5 separate regions of the Homo sapiens genome follow, and all the other regions are linked to region 3. Evidence: promoter capture Hi-C in 16 types of primary human blood cells and fetal thymus (Javierre and others, 2016). All regions are on one chromosome and are shown on one strand. The core of a region is centred on a gene start or on the middle of the fragment in contact, and the rest is flanking DNA. Distances in the headings are between cores, read along the strand shown.

Region 1 (3,228 bases), core at 237-2,736, 120 kb after region 3:
ATTAATATATGTGCACCACACATCAGAGCACCTAATTATATAAAGCAAATATTGACAGATATGAAAAGGTAAATTGACAGCAATATGATAATCGTAGGAGACTGACTTCAATATCCCACTTTGGATACAATAGTAGGTAGAAAATCTAGACAAAAAATTAATAAAGAAACAGGAAGCATGAATAACACTATACACCAAATAAACTTAACAGACATATACAAAATTTTCACCCAACAGCAGAAGAATACACATTCTTCTCAAGCACACATGCAACATTCTCCAGGATAGATCACGTGTTAGGTCACAAATAATGTCTTAACAGACTTCCCCTTTTCCTATTTGTCCTGAGAATACTCTCTGGTGGTGCTTGCGGCTGCAGTGTTTACCCAGAGATAACTTTGCCACAAAATATCTTGCTTTTATTATTATTTTCTCATCGCTGTAGTATATCAACTTTGGAAACAAAAGATATCATTCTATTTATGGCATTCTGTTTTTAGTAGTGGTATTTCCATTTACAAAATATAGTAATTCTCGATCACTGAAAATGTCAAATCCTAGAAACCGTAGCATTCCTATGTGGATGTTAACATCATTCTTGAACAGTTGTTGATCAAAGATTCATTTGATGTATCCTATTTTTCTAAAATAGATTATTCTGATGATTCAGATGATTCTGATGTTAGTTCTGTTTAGAAATAACTCCAAGAATAGTTTTTATATTTTATTTTGACATTGAAAATCAGTCAGATTTGCTTCAGTCTCAAAGAGCATGTTTATGTAAAATTAAATGAGCGCTGGAAGTGACCTGCACTTTTTTTTTTCTAAATGGGAAAAGGGTTAAGAGGATTGAAATTATATCAAATGTCTTAGTCTGTTTCATGCTACTATAACAGAATGCCTGAGACTGGGTAATTTATAAAGAACAGAAATTTATTTTCTCACAGTCTGGATCTGGGAAGTCCAAGATAAAGGCACCAGTATATGGTAAGGGTGTTCTTTCCATGCTATTCCATGGTGAAAGGCAGAAAGAAAAGAGACTACACACATGGGCCAGGCATGGTGGCTCATACCTGTAATCTCAGCACTTTCGGAGGCCAAGATGGGTGGATCCCTTGAGTTCAGGTGTTTGAGGCCAGCCTGGGCAACATGGGGAAACCCTGTCTCTTCAAAAAATATAAAAATTAGCCAGGCATGGTGGCACCCACCTGTAGTCTCAGCTACTTGGGGGGCTGAGACAGGAGGATCACTTGAGTCCAGGAGGTTGAAGGTGCAGTAGCCAAGATCACACCACTGCACTTCAACCTGGGTGACAGAGCAAGACCTTGTCTCAAAAAATAAATAAATAAAATAAAATAAATTAAAAAAAGAGTACACACAGTCATGTGTGAGAGAGACAGAGAGAAAAAGAGAGAAAAAGGAGGACTGAATTCATCCTCACATAAGGAACTCGTTTCCATGCTAACAGCTTTAATCCATTCATGACAGTGGAGTCCTCATGACCTAATTACCTTTCGTTAGGCCCCACCTCCCAACACTGTTGCATTGGGGATTAAGTTTCTAACACATGCTTCTTGAGGGACACATTCAAACCGTAGCACCAAGTACTTTTCTGACCAAAATGGTATAAAACTGGAAATCAATAATAGCAAGAAATAAGATAATTCACAAATATGTGGAGACTAAGTAACACGTGCTTAAACAACTACTGATTCAGAGCGGAAATAAAAGGGAATTGAAATATCTAGTGGTGAACAAAAGTGAAAACATACATATCAAAACTCAAAGTATGCCATGAAAGCAGTGATAAGAGGGAAGTTTATGGAGATAAATGCCTACATTTAAAAAGAGAAAGATATCAAAATGACAACGTAACATTACACCCCAAAGAACTAAAAAAAAAATTAGCAGAAGGAAATGACAAAGATCAAAACAGAAACAAACCAAATAGAGAATGGAAAAGCTATAGAAAAATGAACAAAACTGGGTTGTTTTTTAAAAAACTAAAATCAACAAACACTTACCAAGACTAATAAAGAAAAAATAGACAAGACATAAATAAATAAAATCAGAAATGAAAGTGGAGACATTATCTCCACTAGTAATGTATCAGATATAAAAAGAATCATAAGGGACTATTATAAACATCTGTATACCAACCAATTGGATAGCTTAGGGAAAATATAAAAATTCCAGTACACATTCAACATGGTACTGGAAGTCCTAGTTAGAGTAATCAAACAAGAGAAAAAAATTAAAGGCATTCAAATTGGAAAAGAAGTCAAATTATCCCCATTCTTTGATTATATAACCTTATATCTAGAAAAACCTGAAGACTCCACCAAAGAAACTCTTAGATTTGATAAATGAATTCAGTAGTTTCAGAATACAAAATCAATATACAAAAATCAGCAGCATTTCTATACACCAATAACGATCAAGCTGATAATCAAATCAAGAAGGCAATCCCATTTCCAATAGGTACAAAAAATAATAAAATACTAGGAACATACATAACTGAGGAGGTGAAAGATCTCTAGAAGGAAAACTACAAAACACTGATGACAGCAATTGTAGCTGACATAAACAAATGGAAAAAATCCCATGCTTGTGAATTAGAAAAATTTATAGAGGCAAAATGACCAAACTGCCCAAAGCGACCTACAGACTCAATGCAATTCCTATCAAACTACCAATGTCATTTTTCACAGAATTAGAAGAAACAATACTAAAACTCATATGAAACCAAAAAGAGTCAAAGTAATCAAAGCAATCCTAAGCAAAAAGAACAAAGCTGGGCACATCACATTGCCTGACTTCAAATTATACCATAAGGCTAAGGTAACCAAAACAGCATGGTACTGGTATGAAAATAAACACACAGATCAATGGAACAGAATAGAGAGCTCAGAAATAAAACCACATGTTATAACCAACTGATCTTTGACAAAGTTGGCAAGAAAATACACTGAGGAAAGGACACCCTATTCAATAAATGGTGCTGGGAAAATAGATTGCCATATACACAAAAATGAAACTGGACCCCTACTTATCTATCTATCTATCAATCACTATATGCAAAAATCAACTCAAGATGGATTAAAGACTTAATGTAAGAATTAAAACTATTCACTCAGTGCTCAATGGCGCCCAGGCTGGAGTGCAGTGGTGTGATCTCAGCTCGCTACAACCTCCACCTCCCAGCCGCCTGCCTTGGCCTCCCAAAGT
Region 2 (3,193 bases), core at 646-3,145, 120 kb before region 3:
GGTCCACTTGATCCAAAGTTGAGTTCAAGTCCTGAATATTCTTGTTGATTTTCTGTCTTGATCTGTCTAATACTGACAGTGGGGTGTTAAAGTCTCCAACTATTATTGTGTGGGCGTCTACATCTCTTTTAAGTCTCTAATAAGTTGTTTTATAAATCCAGGTGCTCCTATATTGAGTGCACATATATTTAGGATAGTTAGCTTTTCCTGTTGAATTGATTCCTTTACCATTATGTAATGTCCTCATTATCTTCTTTGATCTTTGTTGGTTTAAGGCCTGTTTTGTCAGAAACTAGGATTGCAACCCCTGCTTTTTTCTGCTTTCCATTTGCTTGGTAAATTTTCCTCCATCCCTTTATTTTGAGCCTATATGTGTCTTCACGGTGAGATTTGTCTCTTGAATACAGCACACTGATGGATCTTGATTGACTCTATCCAGCTCGCCATTGTGTGTCTTTAAATTGGGGCATTCAGGCCATTTACACTTAAGGTTAATATTGTTATGTTTGAATTTGATCCTGTCAAATGATGTCAGCTGGTTATTTTGCAGACCTGTTGACATAGTTGCTTCTTAGTGTCATTGGTCTTTGTAGTTCCATGTGTTTTTGCAGTGGCTAGTAATAGTTTTTCCTTTCCATATTTAGTGCTTCCTTCAGGGGCTCTTGCAAGACAAGCCTAGTGGTGACAAATTCCCTCAGCATTTGCTTGTCTGAAAAAGATTTTATTTCTCCTTTGCTTATGAAGCTTAGTTTGGCTGGATACTAAATTCTCAATTTAAAATTCTTTTCTTTAAGAATGTTGAACATTGACCCCCAATCTCTTATGGCTTGCAGTGTTTCTGCTGAGATGTTTGCTATTAGTCAAATGGCCTTCCCTTTGTAGGTGACCTGACCTTTTTCTCTGGCTGCCCTTAACATTTTTTCCTTCATTTTGACCTTGGAGAATCTGATGAGTATGTATCTTGGGATTGATCTTCTCATGGGCTATCTTACTGCAGTTCTCTAGATTTTCTGAATTCAAATGTTGGCTTGTCTTGTTGAGTTGGGGAAGTTCTCCTGGATGATATCCTGAATTATGTTCTCCAACTTGGTTCCATTCTCCCCATCGCTTTCAGGTACCCCAATTAGTTGTAGGTTTGGTCTTTTTACATAATTCCATAGTTAGGTTTTGTTCATTCCTTTTCTTTCTTTTTTCTCTAACCTTATCTTGTTTCAGCAAGATAGGTTTCAAGCTCTGAAATTCTTCCCTCTGCCTGGTCTATGTGGTTAGTGATACTTGTGGTTGCATTTTGACATTCTCGTGTTGTCCATCAGGTCTTTTATGTTCCTCTCTAAACTGGTTGCTCTGTTTAACGGTTCCTTATGATTTATCATGGTTCTTAGCTTGTTTGCATTGGGTTAGAACACACTCCTTTATCTCAGCGAAGTTCACTATTACCTGCCTCCTGAAGCCTATTTCTGTACATTCATCCATCTCAGCCTCCACCCAGCTGCTTGTCCTTGCTGGAGAGGTGTTGTGATCATGTGGGGGAGAAGAGGCCCTCTGGCTTTTTGAGTTTTTAGAGATTTTTGTTCTTTCTCATCTTCATGAGTTTATCTGCCTTCAATCTTTGAGGGTCCTGACCTTTGTACAGGGTATTTATGGTGACTTTTTTGTTGATGCTATTGTTGTTGCTTTCTGTTTGTTTGTTTTTCTTTTAACAGTCAGGGCCCTCTTCCACAGGGCAGCTGTGTTTTGCTGGGGGTCCACTCCAGACCCTTTTGCCTGGATTCCTCCCACACCTGGAGGTGTCATCAGTGGAGGCTGCAGAACAGTAAAGATAGCTGCCTGCTCCTTCCCTCTGGGATCTCTGTCCCAGAGGGGCACTGACCTGATGCCAGCAAGAACTCTCCTATATAAGGTGTCTGGCAATTTCTGTTGGGAGTGGTCTCATCCAGTCAGGAGGGTTGGGATCTGGGACCCACTTAACGAAGCATTCTGGCTGCCCCTTGGCAGAGTCAGTGTGCTGCACTGAGGGGAATCCCACTCATCTGGACTGCCTGAATTCCTCAGAACAAGCAGGCGGATAAGGCTGATCCAAAGAGACTGTGGCTGTCCCTCCCCTCAGGCGTTCAGTCCCGGGGGATCAGAGTTCTGTCCCTAAACCCCTGGCTGGAGTTGCTAAAATTCCTTTAGGGAGGCTCCTCCCCCTCAGTGAGGAGCACTGGGTCAGGGTCTGGCCTAAAGAGGCAGTCTGGCCACAATCTGCCACAGCTGCTGTGCTGCACTGTGGGGAATTCCTTCTGGGTCCAAACTGTCTAGTCTCCCTGGCACCAGCAGGGAAAACATGGCAGTCTGGAGCTGCAGTGATGGCTGCCACCCCTCCCCCCGGGAGCTCAGTCATCTTAGGCAGCAGGCAGCTGCAGTGATAATGGCCACCCCTCTCTCTGAGAACTAGGTAGTCTTAGGTAGTCTCCAGCCAAGTGGCTGCTGAGAATCTGTACAGCTCTGTGCTTGGAACCCAAGGAACTCGTGGCGTGGGCTCATGAGAGGGATCTCTTGATCTGTAGGTTGTACAGATCTGTGGAAAAAGCAATGGTTTCCCAGGCAGGGTAGAAGGATCACTCACCGCCTCCCTTGGATGGGGTTGGGCACTCCCGTTACCCTGTGTGGTTCTCAGGTGGGCCATGGCATTGCCCCACTTTTCCTCACTCTCTGTGGGTCATGTCAACTGTCTAGTCAGTCTCATTGAGAGAACCTGGGTATCTCAGTGCTGGTGCAGGATTCACTTGCAGTTTTCATTCTTCTCAGTGGGAAACTTCAACTGCAGCTGTTTCTAGTCAGCTATCATGACCCCTCCCTCCCACGGATAAATTTAACAAAACAAGTGCAAGGACTTTACACTGGAAGATTTCCTTATGCTAAAACAAATCAAAGAGCTGAATAAATGCAAAGACATCCTATGTTAAATGATAATATTGTAAAGAATACCCCAAAAATTGACCTACAAATTAAATGGAGTCCCTTCAAATTTCAACTATAGTTTCTATGGTTTTTGTAGAAATTGACAAGCTTTCTCAAAATCCACATATATATGCAAAGCAAAGAAAAACCACAAACACAATCCTTAAAGTAATAACAAAATTCAGCGGGGCACGGTGGCTCACACCTGTAATCCCAGCACTTTGGGAGGAGGAGGCGGGCAGATCACCTG
Region 3 (3,480 bases), core at 700-3,199:
GGCTGCAGTGGTTTTATTAATCATGATTGGCCTGGCCGTAGCTCCAGGCTGAGAGGGACAGGTTTGTCAGTGGTGGTCCCCCAGATGTCCCTGTGCCCAGCCCTGGCCTGTCTGCCCTCAGGCCCAGCAGGAGGCGCTACCACAGGCTCTGACTGGCGTCCCTACTCCCTGTACCCCAGATGGACAGAACCTTCGGGTCTACAGTCGGAATATATCATTCTCCCCATTTTAACCTGAGCTGCCTGACACACGGAGGGTGTGCTGGGTAAGGGGCCTAGGGAGCCAGGGTTGAATCATGGATCCTGGGGAAAGGTTGCAGACACAGGAAGGGTTGTCACCTCTCTGTGGAGCCCTGCTGCTTACCACACAGCACCTTCTGCAGAGACTAGCTCTGAGGGTGGCAGGGGACCCCACAGGCCATGGCCACTCCCTCTCTGCACCTGTCCGTGCCTGCTGTGGAAGCCTGGACTGGGGGAGGAGATTGCTACCCTGTGAGCCTGAGGGAGCCACGTCCAGCTGTGACCTCTACCTGGGGCTTTACAGAGAGTTGTTTATGGGTAACAGACACCTTGTTTCAGAGGGAATGGGCATGAGCTGGCAAGTGAAGCACCCCCACAGCTTATCAGGAACTTTTTCTCATTTTTAAACCATCATGTCTTCATTTCACATTGGAATAAAGTGAGGTTTTGGAACCTGCTGCCCCAGTCTCTGGATTGTGAGGGCTGTTGTCAAACAGGTTACTAGGAGAGGAATATGTATAAATTAGCTCAAATTCAAGGTTATGCTTGTAATGTCACCTGAGTGGGAAGTAAGAGGGTGGAGTCACAGGCACTCAGCTGGGATTTACCTGGCCTCGTCACTAGACTAATGGGATTGTGGCACAGGTGAACATCCCGTCATTGGAGAAGAAAGGCTGGATTGAAGGCCAGGTGGGGGAGGGGTGCTAGGCTGTGGGGTCAGGCCCTGGGCATGCTGGACCTGTTAGGTCACTGAACATCTGACTGGGCACCTGCCCAGATTTGTCCCTTCAGTTGAGGTGGGATTGGCAGCACTCCCCAGAAGGCGTGCAGTGCCGGGAGAGTGGAGGAGGGTCTGACGTTTGCTATCCTGTGGTAGGTTTTAGAGCTAACTAGATGCTTGTGGAGAGCTAATGACATGGGAAGAAGGCAGCCCACCTTGATGGACCGGAGGGTTAGAGCCTGCGATGTGAGAAGCGGGTGTGTGGAGGTGGCCTGTCTACAAGAGGGCAAGTTTAAGGCCCATTGCAGTGGCACTATCTCAGCTCACTGCAGCTGGTGGCTGCCAGGCCATCCCTCTCCAGAGCAGGGAGGCCCTCAGCCTTATGTATAATTGAATGCCTTTTGGGATGCTTGGATAGTCCTTTATGTCTTGGAAATTCAGAAAAGAAAAAAAAAATTACAATCCTCCTGTCTGTTAGTTTCCCTGAGCCAACTGGATAAAAGATGTCCCTGACCCCAAGATTTTAAGTGACACCCAAGGGAAGCCACCGTTACCTTGGCTGTTGAAGCCTCCTGCATGCTCCCCAAAAACCCCAGCAGTTTCCTCTGCAGTCCCACAGTTATGTCCTGAGCAGTGGGGTACCGTGTGATGAGAGGTGCTAAGGATGGGATGAGGGTCTTTCCTGTGTTATTAGAACGGTTAAAAAGTTGTTTTAAAGGTGCCCAAATGCCCTCCTTCTTAAACTTAATTAGCTAATAAGATGCCTTATACAAGCAAAACCAGGTACGGGAAAGCAAGTGCATTTCAAGTCCAAGCTCACCCCTTAAATTAGCTGTAATACCCTCAGCAGGTGGCCCCACCTCAATGAGCCTGTCTCCCATTCAAAAAGCAGAACGAGTGAGAGGGCGGGGCCTGGAGCTTTACCCAATCAGTGGCGTCGGAGTGGAAATCCTCCAATCGGGAGTAGCCGGAGAGCAGGGGCGGCTTCCGGGATTTGGCGGTGGCCTTTGTTGGCTGCAGTAAGAGCTCAGTCTCTTCACCAGGGGCTCCCAGTCCTTCCATCTGGGAGGCCAAGGCGGCTTCGCGTTCTGAGAATAGACAGAACCTCTGTTACTCTGTGACCGGCAGGCACCGGGAGATCCGTAGCTCAGACGCCAGGACATCCCGGAAGCTGGGAAATGGTGAATGTGCCAGGTCGGGGGTCCCCAGAAGAGGGAGAGGGGCGGTCGGAAGCGGCGGGAACCCTCTTTGAGGTTAGCTTCGGGGTCTGGGCCCTGAGTCCCCGCGGACGCAACTCGGCCCTTGGTCCCCTCCGCCGCAAGATGGCGGCCGGGCCGGCAGCCGGGACCCCGCGCGTCCGGTCCCCTCCCGACCCCGCAGAGCGACCTCTGCCATGGCCGGAGCCGTCTTTGGGTCGCCGCAGCCCGGCGTCTCCCGAGATTGTGCGGTGAGAACGTGAGGGTCTTAGGGGAAATCCCGGGTCGGCGTGTGATTCGTGTGTGGGAAGATACTGTGCCCCGTGGTGTCCCAGTCTCCTTTTTCCTCTTACAAATTAAGGGGAGTCACCCTTAAAGCGTTAAAGGGTTGATTTAGGTAAACAGCGATTGGTGAAATGGGAAGCCTGCCGCCGTGGTTTGTGGTTTAGGGTCCTCTGGAGCAGCGATTTCAAAATCCCAGGGCTCAGCTTAGGAATGCTGCTGGGGAAAAGAAATAGGGACAATCTCTCTTCCACTTTGGCTGTAGAAAACGAATACATTTCCACAGAAAGTGTGCTAGATTAATTGGTCAATTACAAACATTCATTAAAATATCAGGTCCTCTCTTTTGCAGTGGAGGATTTGTGACAGTGGATATCTGTGTTCCATATTCTACTGCTATCTGGATGTCCGACTTTAATGCCAAATGTTATGAGACAGGACTTGGCACCTCCTAGAAGTGTTCACATATACTAAATGATCTGCTATTATGGAAATAATTAAATGACATGTTTCTTGCTCGAAAGAGGTATTTTGGCCTTACCTGTTGAAGTATAAAGTGTAAGTGCCTTACAGTTTCCTTCCTTTCTATAAAAACTGTTTTGAGTGATTTTGCTATTTTCCTGAAACCTGTTAGGTCACTGAACATCTGACTGGCTGGGCACCTGCTCCTGTCCCTTCAGTTGAGGTAGGATTGGCAGCACTCCCCAGAAGGCGTGCAGTGCCAGGAGAGTGGAGGAAGGTCTGACGTTTGCTATCCTGGGGTAGGTTTTAGAGCTCGCTAGATGCTTGTGGAGAGCTGATGAGATGGGAAGAAGGCACCCCACCTCGATGGACCTGAAAGAGAGAGCCTGCGAATTGAGAAGCGGGTGTGTGGAATAACCCTGACTAGGCATAGAAGACCTCAGTCTTATTTGAGCCTGCAAAAGGAGGTCATTGAAGGCCCAGTTAGTTCTTCCTGGGGAGCGCCCCCTTCAGGTGTCCCTGAGGTTCACAGCAGCCATGGAGGGAGCCCTTTGTTACTGGGAGAAGCTGCAGAGTTCTG
Region 4 (3,105 bases), core at 443-2,942, 71 kb after region 3:
AGTCATATTTACTGTCTGTGACAAATACGTAACTGAATATATAAGCTGTTTGTGAAATTTGACTTTGGATTTGTTGAAGAGGGTTCTCATAGAGACTACCTCATATTTTTTCACCTATATTAAGATAGAACAGAAACATAATTTTTAATAAGAACAAAAAAAATTATTGTAATTGAGGAATGGCATGAAAAAAGATTACTTGATGACTCAAAGTGATTAGCACTTACTTACCACATACAGTGTTTTAGACACTGTACTAAGCTGTGGCACATTTATAGGCATAACACCCAAAGTTTAAAAATAAATAATTGAAAGATTCATTGGAAATGACAAATTGGCATATTTTTAGTCATACCAGGTGACAGTAAGGCAATCATAAAAGTTGACTTTTGGTGTACAATTAATAAATGAATATAAAGAATGTTACATAATTTTGTTAGAAATTTGACTAAGTTGTCATAGAAATAAACCAGCAGCATTTCAACCAGTAAACAGAGGATGTGCATTTTTAAAAGGAAAATCTGACAAAGGTATGCTTTAGGCCGGAAAATTGTTATTGAATTAACGATAGGAATGTAATGTCATATTTTCTGAACACTCTAAGTTACAATAGAAAGTATCTATTAAAATGTATTAGTCAATTCTCATGCTTCTATGAAGAAATTCCCAAGACTGGTTAATTTATAAAGGAAGGAGCTTTAATTGATTCAGTTCCACAAGGCTGGGGAGGCCTCATGATACTTAAAATCATAGTGGAAGAAAAAACAAACACGTCCTTCTACACATGATGGCAGGATAGAGAAGTGTGGAATGAAGGGGGGAAAGCTCCTTACAAAACCATCAGATCTTGTGAGAACTCACTCTCTATCATGAGAAGAGCATGGAGGTAACCGACCCCATGATTCAATTACCTCCCACTGGGTCACTCCCACAACACATGGGGATTATGGGAACTACAATCAAGATGAGATTTGGGTGGGGACACAGCCAAACCATATCATTATGCCCTTGGCCCCTCCCAAATCTCATGTCCTCACATTTCAAAACACAATCATGCCTTCCCAGCAGTCCCCCAAAGTTTTAACTCATTCCAGCATTAATGCAAAAGTCCAAGTCCAAAGTCTCATCTGGGACAAGGCAAGTCCCTTTCACCCATGAGCCTGTAAATTCAAAAACAAGTTAGTTACTTCCTAGATACAGCGGGGGTACGGGCATTGGGTAAATACACCCATTTCAAGTGAATGAAATTGGCCAAAATGAAGAGGCTACAGGCCCCATGCAAGTCTGAAATCCAGCAGGGCAGTGAAATCTTAAAGCTCCAAAATGATCTCCTTTTACTCCGTGTCTCTCATCCAGGTCACACTAATGCAAGAGACGAGTTCCCATGGCTTTGGGCAGCTCCACCCCTTTGGCTTTGCAGGGTATAGCCCCCCCTCCTGGCTGCTTTCACAAGCCGTCATTGAGTGCCTGTGGCTTTTCCAGGTGTAGGGTGCAAGCTGTCCATGGATCTACCATTTCTGGGATCTTGAGGATGGTGGCACTATTCTCACAGCTCCACTAGGCAATGCCCCAGTGGGCACTCTGTTTGAAGGCTCCGATTCCACATTTTCCTCCCGTATTGCCCTAGCAGAGGTTTAGTTTTTTGTGTTTTTTTGGTTTTTTTTTGAGATGGAGTCTCACTCTGTCACCAAGGCTGGAGTGCAATGGTGTGATCTCGGCTTACCGCAACCTCCGCCTCCCGGGTTCAAGCGATTCTCTTGTCTCAGCCTGGGACTACAGGCACATGCCACCATGCCTGGCTAATTTTTGTATTTTTAGTAGAGATGGGGTTTCATCATATTGGTCAGGCTGGTCTCGAACTTCTGACCTCAGGTGATCCACCCACCATGGCCTCCCAAAGTGCTGGGATTACAGGCATGAGCCACCGGGCCCAGCCACAAGTGCCAGTTTCTTACATGCATACATTGCATAGTGGTGATGTCTGGGCTTTTAGCATACTCATCACCTGAATAGTGAAATTTCTGCTGAATCGTTTTTCACCCCTCACCCTCCTTCCACCCTCCAACCTTTCGTGGACTCCAGGGACTGTTATTTCACTCTATAAGTCAATAAGTGCCCATTGTTTAGCTCCTACTTATGAGATCAAACAGTATTGAATGTTCTCTTCTTGAGTTATTTCACTAAGGAAAATGGCTTCCAGTTTCATCCATGTTGCTGTGAAATACATGATTTCTATTTTTTATTGCTGAGTATTTTGTGGTACATGTGTACCACATTTTAATTTTTTTATTTTTAATTTTTTGGGTAACATAGTAGGTTTATATGTCTGTGAGGTATACGAAATATTTTGATACCGACATACAATGTGTAATAATCACATCAGGGTAAATGGGGATTCATCACCTCAAGCATTTCTTCCTTGTGTTATAAACAATTCAATTATACTCTTGTAGTTATTTTTAAATGTACAATTACATTAATTTTGACTACAATCACCCTCTTGTGCTAGTAAATACTATATCTTAATTCTATTTTTTTGTATGCATCAATTATTCCCACTCTCCCACCCACTGGTAACCATCAGTGGATTATGGGCTAGGGGTGCATATCATTCTCAGCCTCTGGTAAACACCATTCTACTCTGTCTCCATGAGTTCAATTGCTTTAATTTTTAGCTGCCACAAGTAAGTGAGAACCTGCAAAGTTTGTCTTTCGGCACGTGGCTTATTTTGCCTAATATGATGACTTCCAGTTCCATACATGTTGTTGCAAATGACAGAATCTTATTCTTTTTTACAGCTGAATAGCCCATTGTGTACATGTCCCACATTATTTATACATTCATCTGTTGATGAACACTTAGGTTGCTTTCATATCTTGACTATTGTGAATAGCACTGTAAATAAACATAAGAATGCAGATTTTGTTTTAATATAGTGATTTATCTCTCTTTGGGTATATACCTAATAGTGGGATTGCTGCAGCTAATGGTAGTTCTATTTTTAGTTCTTTAAGAACTCTCCATACTGTTTTCCATAAAGGTACTAATTTACATTCCCACCAACAGGGTATAAGCGTTCCCTTATCCCTGTAGCCTCACCAACA
Region 5 (3,167 bases), core at 443-2,942, 95 kb after region 3:
GCACTTTGTTGTGGCGAGCCTCATGTTACACAGCACACCCCAGACTACTTCCTATAAATTTCTCCTGGGAAACCTGCCTTTGTATGTGGAAGTATACCTGGCTTATTAAAATATATGTATTTAAAAACAAAAAGCAACAGTAATCTATGTGTTTCTGTAACAAATTGGGATCTGTCTTGGCGTTAAACCACATCATGGACCAAATGTGCCATACTAATGATGAGCATTTAGTACAATTTGAGACTGAAATTTAGTACACTATGTTCTAGATAGGTCACTCTAACAGTTTGCCTGCTGTATTTATAGTAACCATTTTCCTCCAGACCGTTCAAGCAGAAAAGGTAACTAATTGCTTCATCTCCTTTTGTGCTTATTTGGAAATTTTAGTTACAGTGTTTAACTGGCATGGATTAATAGAGTTGGAGTTTTATTTTTAAGAAAAATTCACAAGCTAACTTCCACTAATCCATTACCCTTTATTTTATTGAAATGTATAATTAACTTAACTGAAGAAAGGGTTCTTCTTGGGAGTACGTTGTCGTAACATTTACAGATTTCCCTTCATTTAAACTAAATTACTGTTGTATGTTGATCTGCTGCATATTTCTGTCATGACAGTGCTTGCATCCTATTTGGTGTAGTCAGCAAATAAACTTTTCATTTTAAACGAACAAATATAAGAAGCATGAATACAGGATCTACACATCAGAAAAATTATAGAGGGACAGAATTTTTAAAAAATAACCAAAACTAGTCTCAATAAAGTATAATTATCAAGGACAAAAAGAAAATTTTACAACTTGAAAATAGGAAAAAATGAAGATTAATTCAAAACAAAAAAGGACATGAACTATGACTTTCTTCTCACTTTCTTCATTGATCATTACTTAAGCTTCTTTATTTCATCAAACTTTTCTTACACTGCTGTGCCCAGTTAATTCCATGACATTTTTTATTAATTGGTTTAAAGTTGCATTGTTCCAACTTATTAGAGGCCCATTTTTAATTAATAATTTGCCTCTTAACTTCTCCATTGCAACATTAACAAAATGAAAATTATGAAATTACAAACAAAATGAAAATTATGAAAGCACTTTGCAAAAACATTTCATCTGTAACTGTTGTTTATGATACGTGAAAAATCCTTGAAGGGCAAAGACGGATTCTGAGTCTTATATACACTGCAATTGACTGCCCATTGCGGTGCTTAACCTGCAGGAAGAAATCAACAAACGGCCATTCATTATACAAAAAGAAGACAATCCACATAAATCGGAGAACTATCTGACCAGCTTAGGAAACTGTGGATTCCTTCCACAGCAGGCAGAGCCCAGCCTGGGTATCCTGGGATGGCGGCTCATGAGCACAAAGGGGCTGACCATGGGAAAACAGGCAGTGATCAGTGCAGAGGTGTTCAACAGCCACCAACTGGGATTAGGAAAAAGAGACATATGTAAAGATGGAGGAGAGCGAGTAAAGTAACACAAGGTGCTCACCAGGACCAGGATGCTTTGGGTGACTCTGGACTCAGGGGAGGATCTGGCGGAGAGGTTGGTCCCATGAATGTGCTGGACCTGCTGCTTGTGCCTGTGCAGGATAAAAACCATGGAGCCACTGGCCAAGGTCATGAGCCCCAAACACAAAACATCAAGGGATGATAACAAGACAATATGTAATGAATGTGGAATTCTGCTCCTACTTCCTCCAGAACAATATCCATAATCATTTGTCTTTGTGCTATTTATGCTGTTCCACTTGCCAGTCACATGTAGAAGAACAGTAATATTTACCAGCGTGTTCAGAATCCAGCACAGGACCAGGATAAAAGACCTGATGTATTTGTGAGCATGTAGCTTCAGCTCTGCCCACCTGAATTCACTGGGGCTGATGGTGATGACCTGGAAGACACTCAGTGCACACAGCCCTGCCCACTCTGTGAACATAAAACACAAATTTGCATCCAATATCACTGAGGGAATCTTTCAACCCAAAAGCAGCCATTGTTTGTGGGATTCCTTTAGAGAGTATAACCAAGGAGTTGGCTATGGTCAGGTGCTTGAGAATCAGATCTGTGGACTGTAACATACCTCTGGTGAAACAAAGGAAACTATAGTGGTAGAGAAGAAAGAAATTCCCCAGGAATCCGACCATGATCTGAGATAATAAGATCATGCCTATTGCAAAATCCTTGGAGGCCATTTGTCATTTTTCAGTGACTGATAATTACATTCAAAGTGAGAGAACCCTGTGTGGAAACATAAAGTTTCACTTTTGCAAATAAAATCCACTATTGTACACTTACCATTGTTTCCAACTTAGACATTTTCTTATTAGACCCTGTTTTTTAAATAAGAGTTTTGCTCTAAAAAGAAGAACATATGCATCCCCATGAGAGGAGTACTATATTAGTGTTTTGCATGTAACTTTTACAATAATTCTGTGGTATAAGTGCTTTACTATTTCCATTTTACAGGTAAGAAGATCTTACACAAGGAAGCTTAATGAATTTTCTAAAGTAACTGCTTTGTAAGAGGCAGAATCAAAATTGGACAATGTGTTTAATCACTGTGTGTCTCACCCTTGGACATAGTATTTTTTTAATGCTTCACACATTTCATGTTGTATATATTGTCGCTTTCTTTAAACCTGGATGTAGTTTTTTCTTCATTTTTGATTGTGGCAATTTCTCATTTAAATCTAAGTGCTTATTTCATGAGCAAATATCACCTATAATGATTCAGAAATCCAAGTAGAATATAGATGCACTGATTTAGTATAATCCTAAAAGAATAATCATACAAGACCAAATGATATTTATTGAATGCTTAAATGATTTCATGCTGAAATTAAAAAAGAAGATTCTTTCTCATCTTAACCAAGAAGGATACAGAAATGACTGTTGCTAAGCAAGGGGTCAAGGGACATGAGTAGGAGATAAAACAGTGCAAAGGAGAAACAGGTTGTCATGAATTACAGATAAATTTAGTATTTGTTTATGAATACAAAAATATCAAATGAAATTATTTCAGGCTGGGCACCATGGCTCTCATCTATAATCCCAGCACTTTGGGAGGCCAAGGTGGGCAAATCATTTGAGGTCAGGAGTTCGAGACCAGCCTGGCCAACATGATGAAACTCCATCTCTACTAAAAATACAAAAATTAGCT

The links. Contacts are between HindIII fragments. The CHiCAGO score rates a contact against its expected background, and 5 or more counts as called.
Region 1: a contact is called between a fragment that was not itself captured here and the fragment with the promoter of KRABD5 in region 3, in 2 of 17 cell types (neutrophils and M0 macrophages). The highest score is 6.9, in neutrophils.
Region 2: a fragment that was not itself captured here is called in contact with the fragment with the promoter of KRABD5 in region 3 in 7 of 17 cell types (M1 macrophages, M2 macrophages, neutrophils and 4 more); the score reaches 7.9 in M1 macrophages.
Region 4: a contact is called between a fragment that was not itself captured here and the fragment with the promoter of KRABD5 in region 3, in 1 of 17 cell types (M2 macrophages). The highest score is 5.3, in M2 macrophages.
Region 5: a fragment that was not itself captured here is called in contact with the fragment with the promoter of KRABD5 in region 3 in 7 of 17 cell types (neutrophils, M2 macrophages, M1 macrophages and 4 more); the score reaches 10.8 in neutrophils.

What each region holds. Positions count from the first base shown.
Region 1 is chr16:31,832,924-31,836,151 of GRCh38, forward strand. No RefSeq gene overlaps it. Among named protein-coding and RNA genes, the nearest start is that of ZNF267, 39 kb to the right of the region's middle. The HindIII fragment of the contact is 6,968 bases long and covers 1-3,228 here.
Region 2 is chr16:31,586,562-31,589,754 of GRCh38, forward strand. No RefSeq gene overlaps it. Among named protein-coding and RNA genes, the nearest start is that of LINC02190, 35 kb to the left of the region's middle. The HindIII fragment of the contact is 2,307 bases long and covers 743-3,049 here.
Region 3 is chr16:31,711,295-31,714,774 of GRCh38, forward strand. It overlaps KRABD5 (KRAB domain containing 5), which reads left to right and starts at 1,950. Exons shown (of 5, transcript NM_001130913.2): 1 at 1,950-2,141. The coding sequence starts at 2,139. RefSeq lists enhancers at 2,117-2,236, 3,361-3,410 and a silencer at 2,327-2,386. The HindIII fragment of the contact is 15,701 bases long and covers 1-3,480 here.
Region 4 is chr16:31,782,192-31,785,296 of GRCh38, forward strand. No RefSeq gene overlaps it. Among named protein-coding and RNA genes, the nearest start is that of KRABD5, 70 kb to the left of the region's middle. The HindIII fragment of the contact is 3,489 bases long and covers 1-3,105 here.
Region 5 is chr16:31,806,646-31,809,812 of GRCh38, forward strand. It overlaps the pseudogene PPP2CBP1 and the pseudogene VN1R3. Among named protein-coding and RNA genes, the nearest start is that of ZNF267, 66 kb to the right of the region's middle. The HindIII fragment of the contact is 1,605 bases long and covers 891-2,495 here.